2 separate regions of the Homo sapiens genome follow, and region 2 is linked to region 1. The links are contacts of gene promoters, found by promoter capture Hi-C in blood cells and fetal thymus (Javierre and others, 2016). All regions are on one chromosome and are shown on one strand. Each heading gives the region's core, a stretch centred on a gene start or on the middle of the fragment in contact. The rest is flanking DNA. Distances are from core to core; before and after follow the strand shown.

The links. The method cuts DNA at HindIII sites, captures the fragments that hold promoters and counts their contacts. A CHiCAGO score of 5 or more calls a contact.
Region 2: a contact is called between the fragment with the promoter of TH2LCRR here and a fragment that was not itself captured in region 1, in 2 of 17 cell types (M1 macrophages and endothelial precursors). The highest score is 5.5, in M1 macrophages.

Annotation. Positions count from the first base shown.
Region 1 is chr5:132,813,598-132,818,843 of GRCh38, reverse strand. It overlaps SOWAHA (sosondowah ankyrin repeat domain family member A), which reads right to left. Exons shown (of 1, transcript NM_175873.6): 1 at 2,058-5,246. The coding sequence starts at 5,222. The coding sequence ends at 3,573. Among named protein-coding and RNA genes, the nearest start is that of SOWAHA, 2.9 kb to the right of the region's middle. RefSeq lists enhancers at 3,397-3,897, 3,898-4,398 and a silencer at 4,438-4,507. The HindIII fragment of the contact is 238 bases long and covers 1,166-1,403 here.
Region 2 is chr5:132,654,090-132,659,368 of GRCh38, reverse strand. It overlaps TH2LCRR (T helper type 2 locus control region associated RNA), which reads left to right and starts at 3,215. Exons shown (of 3, transcript NR_132125.1): 1 at 3,215-3,318. It overlaps IL13 (interleukin 13), which reads right to left and starts at 1,196. Exons shown (of 4, transcript NM_002188.3): 1 at 1,009-1,196. The coding sequence starts at 1,182. RefSeq lists silencers at 2,412-2,471, 2,552-2,641, 2,702-2,991. The HindIII fragment of the contact is 15,561 bases long and covers 2,556-5,279 here.

The DNA.
Region 1 (5,246 bases), core at 35-2,534:
GCGGAGGTTGCAGTGAGCCGACATCCCACCATTGCACTCCAGCTCAGGTGGCTGAATAGCAGTGGTTAGGTCTGGAAGGTAGGAGTAGGAATGCTAGAGGAATGTGAGTTTAGAAAGACATTATTTCTATTTTAACTAAAGTGATATCATGTACAGAATATGGGATAATTTCCCTCTTGTGGGAATACATTTTTCCTAGTAGAGTCGATTGTTACTTATGTATACAATCACCAACATGTTAAAAGAATGGTGATCATGGCAGGGCACGGTGGCTCACACCTGTAATCGCAGCACTTTGGGAGGCCAAAGCAGGCAGATCACCTAAGATCAGGAGTTTGAGACCAGCCTGACCAACATGGTGAAACCCCATCTCTACTAAAAATTCAAAAAATTAGCCAGGCATGGTGGCACGTGCCCGTGATCTCAGCTACTTGGGAGGCTGAGGCAGGAGAATCGCTTGAAGCCGGGAGGCAGAGGTTGCAGTGAACTGAGATTGCACTACTGCACTCCAGCCTGGGTGACAGAGCGAGACTCCATCTCAAAAAAGAAAAAAAAAAAAAGAAAGAATGATCATGTAAAGCAGATCCACAAATCAGAGCTATTTGGTTTTGGGATGCAGCCATTTACCCCCTGGAACCAACTCGGCACCCCACATTGGTGTTGCAGTTCATAAAGAGCTCTATCCACTCATTCTACGTGCTCTTCCTTCCCCCACAGCCTGTGAAATAGGTACAGGAAGCCTTTTGTCCCGTAGACAGGGAAGATGGAGTTTGGGGAGCTGGGTGACTTGCCCAAAGACACTAAATGAGTAAAAAGGGCTGAGATGAGCCCACCCTGCTTCCTGCAATAGGATAGCAGACAGTGTCATGAAAAAGAGAACCAGGAGACTATTCCAGCTCTGCATTTACTAGCTGTGAGGCCTAGACAAGTAACTTATGACTTCTCTAGGCTTCAGTTTCCTCACTTTAAAATCAAGATACAAATAGTACATACCTTATAAACTTGCGATTAATACCTGCAAAGTGTTTCGAATTGTGCCTGGCACTTAATCAGCACAGGTTATACAGTATATGCATTACCCTGGATCTCCATTAGGTAAGGGAGACATGCTTAAGAATAACCTCCAACCTCCATTAAAGGATATGTAAAACTTTACTTAAAAGCTTGCTATGGATACGACTCATACCCATCTACATCAACAATTCTCCCTCATTAAAAGGCGTGATTTCGTCCCTGTGACAATTCTTGTCAGCTAAATTGCCTTCACAATTATTTTCTGTTAGTGTTGAAAATACCCTTCTAACGGTGTGCCTCCTGCTAGGTGATATATGATTCTTAAAAACTTTCCCTATGCGTATGAAACTATAATTTCTTATCGGCTTACCTTATAGTTGCAGAAAGCTTTGGCCTGCAAGGAAAAGCAGTGTTTTCTAACACCTGAGCTTTAGGTATATTGATCCTAAACTCTTGCTAAATGTTTTACTTCACTTGGAAGGCTTGCAGCACACTCTTCTGAAACACATAGATTCTTCTGGCAGTTCAAATGACCCTCCTCTGATTTAAGTGTGCAATAAACATTAGTTATTGTTATTACTACTTTGCTGGTTTAAACGTTGTCTTTATCAAGGCAGGTCATACCTGTGTCTGTGACCTTTGTCTGAGGCCCTGTCTGAGTCAGGTGTCTCTTTTACCATGGAAAATCTCTAGTATTTTATTCTGTTTTCTAGACTGTCAGCTACTCCAATTGCTATAATTGTGTCTCCTACAATTTTTCAGCAGAGGCAGAAGATTTAATTTGCATTTTAAAATAATTTATGCAGAGTTCCAGGCAAGGAAGGTGGGAAGGTCACATCAGGGCCCACATTTATCTACAGTTCTCCATTACGATATCCATGTGTGGTTGACTCCTTTACTTTGCAGAGCAATCCAACTTCTTTCAATAACAGAATGCTTGAAAGAGGCAGAAGAATGAAGGAAATTAGATAAAAAGAAAAGAAAAATACAATAGCAAAAACTGTACAATTTTTAAGGGAAGTACATCACCACTCAAGCAGAAACAAAATGGAGGACTGTTTATTTCATTGCTCAATCAAAACATTCCATGAAAGACTGCCTTAAGTAATTTCAAAGGCTTCACTGATACATATGGGGGTGGGGAGGGAAGCTCCACTACCCCATGCCACAAAACTATTTGATATAACTAATGACATGCAAACACAATTTGCAAAAGCAGAGCATTATCACAATATGACATTTAAAAAATTGGTTGAGTAAACAGATTTCATATCTTTAAAACATAAAATAATTACACTGTATTGAGCCTGGGAAATCTTGGCAATATCTACAAACTTTCTCATTTACAGATAGGAACAAAGGCCCAGAGAAGTTAAGCCACTCATCCAAGCTCACTGAGCAGAGATTCTGCATTTGCTATTTTGGAATAAGTTGTCTACTTTCAAATGGTTTTTTAAAATGGGTATTACATACTTTTTGTTTGTACAGAACAGTCATATAAAATAGTTGCTCCTTAATTGTATCCATTACTATTTAATCGCTCATTTTTCTGTAATACTATTACTTTTTTAATAGTCACCTATTTCACTGAAAGGCTCCACTGGATTTGAAAACCAGATTCAGAAACATGGCACAAAGGTGCAATTCACAAACCACAATTTTTTTAAAAAATTAAGTAGTCATGCCAAATCAAAATAGCCACCCACAAGTGCCAAACACGTTTCTATTTCATGATGGAGACAACCACAAATTAAAAGTATCTGTCAAAATGTCTCTTTTCTCTAAGTCACCTTTACTTTCAAGATGTACTTGTTTGCAAATATTTAGCATTCACAGTACAACTGAAATTAGTTACATTCATAATGGTCACAATCGTTATTCTGTGTTCAAGACTCTCCAGAATCTTGATTGCCTAAAACGAGGTAGATAAACTTTTAAGTTTGTTGGTTGGGATTAATTTCCTTTAGATCTTGATCATCTATTTTTTAAATAGAATTCCAAAGTATTTAGCAAAAAAAAAATTGAAAATGTCTAAGCACTTTGCCTAAAAGTGGAAAAATATAATTCCAAAAGGTTATTACGAAAGTTGCATTACCTCATTTCAATTTAAAAACAGAATAAAAGCATCAAATTACAAAACCACCACATATCTTAAAGCTGACAACCTAACATCTTTCAACATTTAAAGAGACCCTTGCTCTAGCTCTGTCTTGGGATTGTGTAGCTGCAGAGGCATCAGGTGAAGGCTTTCAGGGGCCAGACCAGCTGCTGCCCCTTAACCTTTGACCCTGGATTTCAAGTTCCCTCTAGAGTTCAGGCCTGTCTCCTGGAGTTCTTTATAGGAAGCTCTCACTGATTTCTCAAATCCCATCTCTGGAGATGGGTCATGCTTCAGAAAGAAGCTGGAGGTGCAGGCCCATCTGGGTAAAACAGGCTGCCCTGGACAAAGCTGGAAACAGAATGAGGCTCCAGGCGTTGATTGGGCTGCAGTCTTGGGCGGGTTTGGACTGCGACGAGCAGGCCACGATAGATCAACCAGGTGGTAGCCCCAGGGACCTTCAGGTTGTTGGAGGCAAACTGGGCACTAGACCAGCTAAAGGCCCCGGAGTAGGTCGACGAGAGATTTCTGAGAAGGCTGGCAGACCACCGCGGATCTTTGTCTTTTTACGTGGAGCCATGGGCGAGGCGCTCAAGAACTTGCTGAAGGAGCTCGACTTCTTCAAGCCTCGGGCCAGGTCCTGGAGCATGAGGTCGTCAGCCAGGACGCCCAGAAATGCACTGGTGGTGGAACTGAGGATGGTGGCGGCCACCTGTACGGGGCGCCTGGCAGCAAGACTGCCACTTCCACCACCGGTCGCATCTGGCTCCGTGGTGCCTCGCAGGCCTGGATCGCCAAGAAGGCGGCGCAGCGCGTACGAGGAGCCGGGCCGCAGGTACTGGTAGGCGCGACGCCCGCTGTGATCACGCACGTGCACCTGGGCACCCAGACGCACCACCAGCAGCACGGCAGCGTCCTCGTGGCCGTGCAGTGCAGCCAGGTGCAGCGGCGTGTAGCCGCCGTGGGAGCGTGCGTTCACGTCGACTGGTGCGCCACTGCGCCGCGCGACCTCCACCAGCTGCAGCGCCATCTCGCCGTCGCCGCTCTTGGCGGCCCAATGCAGGGCCGTGAAGCCAGACATGAAGTCGCGCTTGGCCGCCAAGCCGCGGTCGCGCAGCAGCAGCCCGTGCAGCTGGTGGGTCCAGCGGCCCCCGGCAGTCCGCACGAGCCACTCGTGCTCGGACGGCTCCAGGGGCACCGCGGACGGCGGCGGCGCGGCGGGCAACTCCTCGGCGTCAGGGCTCAGCAGACGCGGGCCGGCGCGCGACAGGCGCCTCAGGTGCGGGGAGCGGCCCGGGCCCAGGCCGAGGCCCAGACCGGACTCTTCCACCGAGAGCCGCCTCAGCAGCAGAGGGGAGCTCCGCGGGCTCGGCTCCTCCGACAGCTGCCGGCGCAGGCCGGGCTCCTCCGCCCGGAGGCGGAGCGTGGCGGGGGCCGGGACGCAGCGCACCGGCAGCATACAGGGCTTCTGCTGCGGCGGCCCTTTCGCTGCCCCGGGCCCGGGCTCCGCGTCTGGCGGATCAGAGCAGGGCGATGCCGCCTCAGAAGGGGCCCTAGGCGGTGGGGCCGCGTCTGCGGAGGGTCTCTCGGTGGCCTGGGCTAGCTCAAGGGCTGGAAGCGGTGGGTCGGCGGACCGCTCCCCGGGCGGCTGAGCGGGCTCGGAGGCCGGCCCCCCCGGGGTGTCCTGTGGCTCTGTTGGCAGACCCAGGTCCCCTGGCGGCTCCACTGGCCGCGGCACCCGGACCAAGGGCGGAGCTCCCGGGGCAGAGGCGCTCCGCGGCAAGACCGTCGAAGTGGGTTTCGACGGCTGGGCCGCTGCCCCCGGGGGGCCGAAGGGTGCGGGCTCGGGCTCCGGGGGCCGGGGCTTCTTCCTCAGCACCACGAACTTGACGCCGTCGAGCTCCTTCACCACCGCCACGTTGTTGACGAACTGCTTGAAGCGGTCCCTGCGGGCGGCGCGGCCCCGCGGGTCGCCGGCATCGAGCAGCGGCTTGAAGCGGCTCAGCAGCTCGGAGTTGCGCACCTTCCCGCCGTGCTCCTGCAGGAAGCCCAGCACCGCCGCCTGGCTCACCCCGGCAGCCGCAGCGGCGGCGGCGGCGGCCAGCGCCATGGTGGGGCCCTGGGTTCCTGGCTC
Region 2 (5,279 bases), core at 1,966-4,465, 160 kb after region 1:
CTGCCCTGGCAGCCCAGGCCAGGTCTGCCCCAGCACAGGCCCCACAAGCATCCCTGGTGTGGCACAGAGGCAGGCCTGGCAGCCCCTCAGCATTCCTGAGCTTCGTTTTCTGCTTTGAACAGCAGGCATAGGGGTGAGGTCCCACTGTTTAGGGTCTTGGAGCTGAGAGAAAAAAATTGACACCACTAGTAAGGGACAAGCTGCATGCAAGGCTTGCCATAGTCAGGGCAGGAGGACAGGGGCCTGCGGGAAGGGCCAGGGTGGGGACGAGTGAAGTAGGAGTGGCCTGGGCCACTGTTGACCAAGACAAATCAGATGGGAGGCGGTGGGGATCTGGTGTATTAAATGCCCTGCCTTCTGATGGTGAGGGAACACTGCAGTTAGGAGCATGGACACTCTGGTGTTGGCCAGGCCTGGCTTGAATCCAGCCTCTGTCACTTAACCTCACTGAACCTTAGCAGAATGGGTTCATCGTACCTGCCTCTTGAGGTGGCTGGCAGTGATGAAATGACACATAAAGCACGTGCACCAGGCCTGGTGTAAGCAGTGCTCAGACATGTGAGCTGTTACTAGTGGGGCAAGGAGCGGACTCTACTAAGGAATCCTCCTGTAAGGGCGGGCCTATGATGGTGCTGGGGAGAATGGCTGCATTGTTATGGTCAAAATCCAGTTGGCAAATGCCACATGGTTCTGGGAGGGTGCTGGCCCTTCTCTGCTGTCCTCTGTTCAGGAATGGCTGAGTAGGAGCTGGCAGTGGCAGACAAGGCCAGGCCAGGAGAGCAGGTAGTCCCTGGGGAGTCTGCCAGACACCTCCATAGGTCCATCCACAGTGCTGAGCCCCCCAGCCCAGCTCCTCTCTCCCTCATGGCTGGGCCGGGCCTTGGTCCATGGAGATTTTTCCTGACCTACAGGCATCTTAGGACCAGGCCCAGCCTGCTCATGACCTCATCTTGGGAATCACCCACCCTGGAGCCCTCATAGCTAGGACCCTGGCTAGCCGACACTCACCTTCTGGTTCTGGGTGATGTTGACCAGCTCCTCAATGAGCTCCCTGAGGGCTGTAGAGGGAGGCACAGGGCCTGGGGAGGCAAAGCCGCCAAGGCAAGTGAGAGCAATGACCGTGGTCAACAAAAGCGCCATGAGGCCCAGTGCCAACAGGAGAGGATTGAGGAGCGGATGCATAGGCTGGGTGGCTTGTGGCCTTGGCGTCTTGTGGCAGCTTTTATAGGCCCAAGTGGTGACGCCTGACACCATGGTCTCTGCTTTTTCAGGCACTATCTAGAAACCACATCTTTACTCATCTTGATTTTACTTTGTGGAAAATCCAGTGTCGCATAAAGGAAAGAGTTTGATTTCTCATGGACTTATTGAGAAGGGTCCAGGGCAGAGTTTCCAAGATCTGGGTGGGTTTAATTCCAGCGGCAGGCAAGGGGCCCTGAGAGCGGCGTGGCATTTGCAATGCTGCCCTGAGTTCCAGCAGTTTTGCCTGTGACAACCCTGAGTACCTGGACAGCTGACCCAACTCTGAGCTCCTGTCCTCAGACCCTTTTGGGTCACCAGAAGTGCTGAGCAGATAGTCTTAGTGCACTGTGGCTGTGACCACAGTCTACCAGCTATGGGAATTTGGGGAGTTTTATTTTTTCGATGAACCAGTCTCTTAAATTACTTAAGTAACACTTGCTTGGATACAAAATTCAAACAGGCAATAGAAGAGTAAAGTTCACTTCTTTTGGCTTGCCTAATTCCTCCTTGGCCCCACTGTGAGAGGGATTGTCAAAGTTCAGATTTCCAGGTCTCCACTGAGAGATCCAGAAAGATTCAGAGGTCTTTCTGGGAGCTTTTTTGGTGTTTTTTTGTTTTGTTTTGTTTTGTTTTTTTGGAGATGGGGTCTCACTATGTTGCCTGCCTAGGCTGGCCTCCAACTCCCAGACTCAAGCGATCCCCCCACCTCAGCTTCCAGAGTGGCTGGAAGTAGTGTGCACGTGTCTGGCCCCTTTAATTTAAAGTGTATGGGCCATCCTTCTGGGAAACTCTTAACTGGGCCAGGCTGGCAGCCTTAGTCCAGGTCAGAGATTGTAAGTGTTCCTAGTGCCACTGGGGCTTGGGGTGATCCCCTTTGCTCACCAGTCTCTGCAGGATCAACCCCTGCCGTCTGGGGGCCTCAAATTTCCCTTCTGCAGAATGAGTGCTGTGGAGGGCGGCTCCTGGGCTTGGCCCCTGCAGCCATGTCGCCTTTTCCTGCTCTTCCCTCGTTTTCCTAGAAGTCCTCCAGAAACCCCCACAGCAGAGGCCACGGCATTTGCCTGTTGGGTGTTGATGTCAAGATTTCTCCCCTACCCACTTCCTCCCCGAACCAGCGCCTCCCCAGGCCCCCTCTCTGCCTGCTCAGGCTCCCTCCGTCCTGTCCTCGATGGGGCTCAACCTCCTCACAAGGGTGTGCTTGTGACCCTCCTCACAAGGCATGCTGGATTCCCGCTCAGAGGCATCCCAGGCTTGCCCACCCTCTCTTCCCACAGGGAACGTCATTCCCACCCTCTCTGTCCACACTCGAAGCTTCCCAGCCCAGCTGCTGGCTCTGACTCCCAGAAGTCTGCCCCTTCCCCTCGAGGGCCCCCAGTGCCTGGAGTGCCGCTACTTGGCCGTGTGACCCCTCTACGGGCCTGTTTCCTAATCTGTAGTAGAGGGCCCACGGCATCTCCCACAGGGTCTCCGTGATGGGGGAAGGAGCGGGGAACTACCTTGGTCTGTGCAACTCCCGGAGCCCCGCCCGGGTGAGTCAACGCCCCTTATCCCCCATGGCCACCAAAAGCCCTGCCGGGAGCGGTGGGCAGGGGCGCCCCCGCGCGTGGGAGAAGGCGCTGGCGCGGCGGTTGCGGCGGCGATGGCCCGCGGAGATAGGGGGGTGGCCTTATGTAACGGGAGATGGGCCCGATAAGCGGGATCTGCGCGGCCGGGCCCTCCTCCGCGGCCTCCGGCGGTGGCCGGTCCGGGAGGCAGGGGTGGGCGCGCAGACCGGCCAGTCTGGAAGCTGCGGAGGCTGGCGAGGGGGCGGCAAAGGTGGCGGTCCGAGCGCCAGGCAGGGCAAGGGCCGGCTGGACACCCGGGCCAGCGGCTCCCCGAGCGCCGGTGCGCACCGGCGAGGGGCGGGAGCGGCCGAGGGGCCGAGGCGCGCACGTGCCGCTCCAGCACCGGCCATGTCAGGCCGAGGGACCCCGCGGGCCCGGCCGAGCGGCAGCCCCTGCCCTGGAGGGTGGTCTCCAGGGACCAAGGCGTGGCGGGCGGTGCGGAGAGGCGCGGCACAGATGGCTACATCAGAGGGTCTGTTGCTTGTTTCTAGATTGTCAGCGGGGATCCACTCCCGTGCGGGTAATTTTAATTAACACTAACTACCAAAGGGCCGCTCCGGGCACTTGGCGCATGTGGCTCGCACCTGCCTGCAATGCGCTGCGTGGGCCGCCCGCTTATGGCCATGGGGAGCCTCTTCGCTTTGCTCTGGCCCCGAAGCGCTGGGATTGGGACCTCCCTTCCTCCCGACCAGCTCATCCTGGGAAAGCTGGGGTTGCTTTTTCGGGTTTCTCTGGACTCTGGGTCTCCGTTGGCAAAGACATGATGCCCAGTCAGGAGGAGTAAGGCCTGAGAGAGTTGTTTTTGTAAGTGAAAGGATTTAATTTTTTAGATTTTTATTTTTAGGAAAGTTACGAATGCAGATAATTTTAAAAATCAAGAAGGCTGATTATGTAAAACGGCAGCGCTGGGAATCCGTGCTCTATGGGCCTCTGGCATTGCTGCTCCTCTTGTGAGTGAGGCACTTACTGCCCTGCTGTGTCCCTTACTGTCTTTTAAAGGTTGTTTATAGGCCGGGCGCGGTGGCTCACGCCTGTAATCCCAGCACTTTGGGAGGCCGAGATGGGCGGATCACGAGGTCAGGAGATTGAGACCATCCTGGCTAACACGGTGAAACCCCGTCTCTACTAAAAATACAAAAAAATTAGCCGGGCGTGGTGGTGGGCGCCTGTAGTCCCAGCTACCCAGGAGGCTGAGGCAGGAGAATGGCGTGAACCCGGGAGGCGGAGCTTGCAGTGAGCCGAAATCGCGCCACTGCACTTAAGCCTGGGCGACAGTGTGAGACTCCGTCTTAAAAAAAAAAAAAAAAAAAAAAAAAGGTTGTTAAGAAAATCACAAGGAAGGAGGAAAAAATATATTTCCTATTCATTAAGTGGAGGTGGAACATCACAAAGGTCTTCAGCGTCACTGTCTTCACGTTGAGCAGGCCGAGGAGGAAGAAGAGGAGGGGTCGGTCTTGTCATCTCAGGGGTGGCAGAGGCAGGAGAGAATCCGTGGATAAGTGGATCTGTGCAGTTCAGAACCTGCTGTTCAAGGGTCAACTGTGTATGTAAAAAATTCAGTGGAATCTCCACCTTCCCTCACAAGTAACTATTTTTCTTAGGTGTTGTTTTTTTTTTTTTTTGGTATCCTATTAGTTTATGTAAATACAAGCAACTGTGAATATATGGTCTTATTTTCCCTTGTCCCTACATGTGAAGTGGCATCATATACACCTTTTGCACCCTGTTTTTCTCACTTACTATAAAAATAATATATTTTTGTATTCACACTTAGATTGGGACATTTTATGACTTTTCTTCTTTGTTCTCTCTTATTGGAACTGCCATTTTTTTTGACTATATACCTCTTGGACTTGTCCTTTAATTTTCTTTTTATTCTATTTTCCATTTAAAAAATTTCTCTTCTCTGGGATATTCTCATAGCTTTATCTTCCTGAGGGTATTTGATTCTTTGTGTGTGTGTGCGCATGTGCACATGCACGCTAACAGCACTATGTTCTTGTTTCATTGATATCTTCTAAGTTTCCTTTTTCATACATAATCTTTATTTTCTGCAAGTTTTCTTTAAAAAATTGTTTTGAACTGGGCGCGGTGGCTCACCCCTGTAATTCCAGCACTTTGGGGGGCCGATCGCTTGAGCCCAGGAGTTTGACACCAGCCTGGGAAACATAGGGAGACTTTACTTCTACAAAACATAAAAAAAACTTAGCCAGGCATGGTTGTGCATACCTGTGATCCCAGCTACTTGGGAGGCTGTGTGGGAGCATCACTTGAGCTCAGGAGTCGAAGCTGCAGTGAGTTGTGATCACACCACTTCACTCCAGCCTGGGTGACAGAGCCAGACCCTGCCTCAAAAAAAATTTTTTTTCCATCTTATAGGCTTTCCTTGCACGTTAGGTAATCCTGGATTGCCTGCACATGTTAAAACAGGGA